2 separate regions of the Homo sapiens genome follow, and region 1 is linked to region 2. The links are contacts of gene promoters, found by promoter capture Hi-C in blood cells and fetal thymus (Javierre and others, 2016). All regions are on one chromosome and are shown on one strand. Each heading gives the region's core, a stretch centred on a gene start or on the middle of the fragment in contact. The rest is flanking DNA. Distances are from core to core; before and after follow the strand shown.

Region 1 (2,700 bases), core at 126-2,625, 120 kb before region 2:
CCTGGCCCATGATGAAAGGCCCGGGAGTAGACTCCAAACCTGAGAGGTGAAAATCAGAACCCTTTCCGACAGGGCTCAGAATTGCAGGTGGCGGTGAGCTGCCGCTTTTTTTTGGATCTTAAGCTGTACGACGAGTCCCAGAGCTGCAGGCTGCCCCATCCCACCCACAAGGAGATGCCTAGAGAACGGGGCCCAGCCAGAGTCGGATGCCTAGATGCGGGAGGGGGGCAAGGACAACTGATCTATTCTCAGATCCAGTCGTCTCCAAGGCCACGTCCACCCCTGCTTTCTGAGGTTTGGTTGTGATGCACTAAGCACCACCACCCTACCATTCCCATTTCTCTGTGTCTTAGTTTGCTAGGGCTGCCATAATCAAGAGCCACAGGCCACGGTGCTTGCACAACAGACATGGACCCGCCTATGGTCCTGGAGGCTGGAAATCCAACCTCAGGGTGCCAGCAGGGTTGGCTTCTTCTGAGGCCCCTCTCCTTGGCTTGCAAACGGCCATATTCTCCTTGTGGTCCATCCACGGTTGCCTCTCTATGTATGTGTGTGCCCAAATCGCCTCTTCTTATAAGGCAGTAGTCATGTTGGATTAGGGCCCACCCATCTGACCTCATTTGAACTTAATTACCTCTTTAAAGATCTGATCTCCAAATACACCCTTAGGTACTCCACATCTGAATTTTGAGGATATGCAATTCAGCACGTAAGAGTCTCACACACTACCCCCATCACCAGCTAAAGACAACTAGAATTGGATTCCACATGCTTGACTGGAGAAGATTCCCAGGTAAATGACCTACTGTCCACTGGCCTTGACACTGAGGTGACTCCCACCCTTTCTCCCAGCAACTACATACCACACACATGCACACACACAACTCTCGCCTGCATTTTAAGGACTCTATCTGCATTACACAGAACAACTTGGAAGCATGAAAGAATCCTAAATTCTTCTGTTTTTTTAATTGACCCAGTCTTGCTGCTAGAGATGAGTAACAAGTGCCCCCATTTTTCCCGGAAAAAGACAAGGAGTTACTATTATTCTTTATTATTTTCTCTTCTTTTCTCCATTTCTCCCTGTTCTTCACTTCCTACTTAGCTCTTTAGAAATGCAGTTATAGCCTTTTACCTCCTCTTCCCCACACACTCCTTACAGGGCAAGTTCACCTAATCATGTGCTTAGAAGCTCCAAAGCAAAACTCTCACCCACCAGGAGGTTTCCTCGATAGATAACAGTTGATTGATGACCCAAAGTATGCCCATGAAGATGCCAACTCGAGTCCCAGTAAATAAGCCATCAAGGTAGCATGTGAAACCCCCCTGCTCACTTCCACCCCTGTGTAGGCCCCTTTTAAAAACACTCCCCTTCTGCTCCAAAGGCAAGGTGGAACCCTTAAGGCAGGAAGCCTGTACTTCTTTCCCTATGTTAGCTTTGGAATAAAAAGTCACTTTCTTTATACCAGACCTAGCTTGTTAATTAGACTCTGCAAGTGGCGAGGAACTGAATCTGCATTTTGGTTACAATGTCGTCCCCTTGAGCCTGTGAGAGTTGCAGAGTCAGAAGCCAGGCTGCTTTTGTGGGCAAGTTATGGCTCTGTGTCTCCTCACTGCCATGCCACCATCTGGACACCCCAGGACCATCGCCCCTCTTTTGGTTTCTTCACAGGGTTTCCACATGGCTCTTTTCTGGCCAGGTTCCTCTCCAGGACAACTCCGGTTCTAGCTCAGGATAGAGATCAACCCAGCGCCAAGAGGATGGAGCCAACACCACCCTGACAGCACAGAGCCCTGGTACACTTGCTGCAAGATGCTCTTCCAGGAGCCTCTCAGAGATAGATGGGCATGCAACTGGCATCCCCAAACAACTGGAGCAAGTCTTATCAAAGTTGCTTCCATCATTTATTCACTCAACAAACACTTGCTGGGTGTGTGTGCCTTATGCCAGCACTATGTGAAATAGATCTACTGACAAAACAGTCTCTGGCCTGAAATAATGCACACATACATATATATCATGTCAGCAGGTGCTGTGAAGAAAAGAAACACAAAGCAAGAGTGAAAGACTCCAGGAGACACGTGTTAGGTGGGCAGGTTCATTTGGTTTTGTGGTCACTTAACCCAACAAACTCCAGCATCGAGGTCACCAGAGGCTTCAGACTGGCTTGTTAAAAACGGCAACTTTGCCGACACCCTCTTGGTGACACAAGAGTGAAGGCCCTGGGGTGGAGTCCTCACTCACAGGAAAGCCAGTCCATGTCACTGACATCAGTCTCCAAACCCAAGCAGAAAGTTCCTCTATGGCTGGGTTCCCCAAGACCACCCTGACTATTCCAACCACATCCACAACCAGCTCTACTATTATTGGCATAATAGCTGCCTATTTTAAATCGGGCCAGACCTGACATCACTGCCTGTGTCTGTGTAACCACAGGCCTAAGACGCTGGCTCTGTTTTCTAATACATAGATGTGGGTACGGATATGTGTGCCTCTATGTGCCAAGTATGCACATAAATATACAAATAAATATTCCTGCAAATGCTCACCTGCATGTCCCCCAAATCAGGTCACACTCCATGAGGGACATAAGTGCCACAGTTGGGAACCACTGCTTTATGGCACCCAACAGATTCCTCATGCAGCATCGGCCTGCAGTCTCCTGTGGCTGTGAGCTCACTGTACCATGAGTCTGCCTG
Region 2 (2,700 bases), core at 170-2,669:
ATTATGTCCCAGGCCTGCTAAATCAGAATCTCTGGGGTCTGTGCCCAGAAGTCCGCATTTCTAAAAGCCTCCAGGCACGTTTGAGCATCTTCACTGTATATTCCACCACAAATCGATGTCCATGATTTCTCTCTCAGATCCTCTTCCTATTGACTAGGTGTATTAGTCTGTTCTCACACTGCTATAAAGTAATTCCTTGAGACTGAATAATTTACAAAGAAAAGAAGTTTAATTGACTCACAGTTCTGCACTGCTAGGGAGGCCTCAGGAAACTTACAGTTATGGCGGAAGGCCAAGGGGAAGCAAGGAAGCTAGCATGTTGTAACATGGTGTAGCAGGAGAGAGAGAGAGCAAAGGGGGAAGTGCCACACTTTTAAACCATCAGATCTCATGAGAACTCACTCGCTATCATGAGAAAAGCAAGCGGGAAGTCTGCCCCCATGATTCAATCACCTCCCACCAGGCCCCTCTTCCAACACGTGGGGAGTGCAATTCGAGATGAAATTTGGGTGGGGACACACAGCCAAACCGTATCACTAGGGTAGAATGTGCCATAGTTCATCTCTCTTAGAAAAACGTTTAGAGTTTTTCTTGAGGTGTCTGGTCAGCCATTTCCTGCCAGTGAAAGGAATCACTCTCCAGGTAGAGTCAGCAGGAGATAGGATTTCCTGCTGGAGATAGTGGCGGGAGATAGGATTTGCACATCTGCTCAACACACTCCATCCCGCGAGTCCTGTGCCGGCTGACAAGCGGTTTCTTAAGGACAGTAACTGTTCCAGGTGTATTCTGGGATCAGCGTGTGACACTCATAGGACTCAAAAGATGTTTGCAGAGATAGAGAAAGGGCAAAAGAATGAATAAATGTCACTCTTAACAGGGAGGAGCAGAGGCAGCAGGATTGTGAGTTTGGAAATATTTTTTCCCCAGCACATGGAAGAAATCCTCATTCTTTCAAAATTTTTCATTCCACCCCATCCCTTTCCCAATCCCCACCCCACTCCCAGAGATCCCCTCTTCTTACTCTTTCTATTTTCTGGCCTGTAACGGAAAGGACTAGAGATTTGGGTAGGGCAGGGGGCATACTAACCTCCAAGGGTCTCATGAGTTCAGCTCCATCAATCTCCTACCTCTCCCTATCGCCCCCGACCCTCCCTCAACGCATCCAGCTTACAGTGAGGGGTAATGGAAAGGATTCTTGAATCAAATCTCCTCCCTGCTCCTTCCTCGCTGTAAAACCTTGGGCCATTTCTGTGACCTCTGAGCCTCCGCTTTCCTATCTGTGAAATGGGGCAGGCTCGTGGGGCCTGGAGCATTCAGCAGGCGGTAACCCAGTGGGCGTTCCCTGCACGGTGCCACGCCCCCTCTGCCGCGCAGGCCACGCCCTCATCTATTAGGCTGGACCCCGCGGCGCCTGGCGGCGTTGCCATGGCAACGCGCGTACACAGGCCGGCCGGGCGGGCGGGGTGCCGGGTGCGAGCTGGAGACTCCGCGGGAGCGCGGCCGGGAGGCTTCGCCCCGGAGCTGGCCCGACGCCTCCCGAGCTGGCAGGGCTCTCGGCGGAGGTCGGAGCGTGGGCTTCCTCCTCCCGCCAGGTGAGTGCGGCGCGGGAAGGGGTGGCGGGCCGAGACCGGGGACCGGAAGGGGCGGCCCAGCGAGGACTAGCCCTGGCAGGAGGAGGGGTGGCTCCCCGGCCCCATCCTCCTGGATCCAGGCTCCGGTCCCCAGGAGCACCCCAGTAGCTACCCCAACACCAGCCCCTCCTTTCCAGATGCAGGCCCCACCCCGCCCGCGGAGGAAGCCCCCGGGAGCCTTAGACCCTCCTTGGCACCAGCCATGCCACTCTGGGAAGTCCTGGGGGTTACAGCTGGGATTAGGAGGGGCATCCCTGCTGCCCCTGACTTACGAACGACACCCACCCGGCGGTCAGAGAGACTCCCCCCTTGCCTAACCTCTCCCTTCCCAAATACAACACTGAGGAATTTCTAGGGCTCCCAGGCCACTTAAGATCTGGTAACCCCTCAACAGAAATTTTGCTTCTCTATCTCACTTGTGACCTATAAGCAGGGAGTGCAGATGCCTGAAGCTCTTTTGCTCTTTTGCATGGTCGGTGCCCTGTGTCTTAGAACTAATTTACAGAGTTTAACGCATCTAATCACTTTCTACAGTGTTTTCAGGTAGGAAAGTGACTGCACAGGGCAAGATTAAAGTGGGGAAATAGGGCCCAACCCATTCAGCTAAAGAAATAGACTTTTTTTTTTTTTTCCAGAATGTCATCTAGGATAAATACTGAAGGGGAAAATGAAAGGTAGTTACTGTCAGAGGTTCTTAGGCTACCCTGACTTACTTTTAAGCATTGTTTTGTACTTTCATTCATTCATGATTTACTGAGCACCACTATGTGTCAGGCATGGCAGCGCTGGGGGCCAGAGGGGAGTAATGAACAGACTGTGAGGAAATGCAAAGGGTCTGAGATTTTTACACTACTTGCAAGCTAAGTTAGCCTGCCACTGCTTAATGATGCTAGCAGAAGACCAGAGACTCCAGGACCAGAGACAAAGGATGTTATTACTCACAGCACAGCAGGCACTGTGAGCTCATGTTTGCGTTGGTTCCCCTTGCCCTGCAAGTACCCCGGGGTGATGCAGGACAGCTCAGGTGGATGCTGTGCACACTGCGAGTCTGTTTCCCAGCTAAGGAACC

The links. Contacts are between HindIII fragments. The CHiCAGO score rates a contact against its expected background, and 5 or more counts as called.
Region 1: a contact is called between a fragment that was not itself captured here and the fragment with the promoter of FHAD1 in region 2, in 7 of 17 cell types (M1 macrophages, M2 macrophages, megakaryocytes and 4 more). The highest score is 8.5, in M1 macrophages.

What each region holds. Positions count from the first base shown.
Region 1 is chr1:15,124,778-15,127,477 of GRCh38, forward strand. All of the region lies in intron 1 of TMEM51-AS1 (TMEM51 antisense RNA 1), which reads right to left. Among named protein-coding and RNA genes, the nearest start is that of TMEM51-AS1, 26 kb to the right of the region's middle. The HindIII fragment of the contact is 8,431 bases long and covers 1-2,700 here.
Region 2 is chr1:15,245,804-15,248,503 of GRCh38, forward strand. FHAD1 (forkhead associated phosphopeptide binding domain 1) reads left to right here and starts at 1,420. Exons shown (of 34, transcript NM_001391957.1): 1 at 1,420-1,592. RefSeq lists silencers at 1,255-1,428, 1,446-1,685. The HindIII fragment of the contact is 5,643 bases long and covers 1-2,700 here.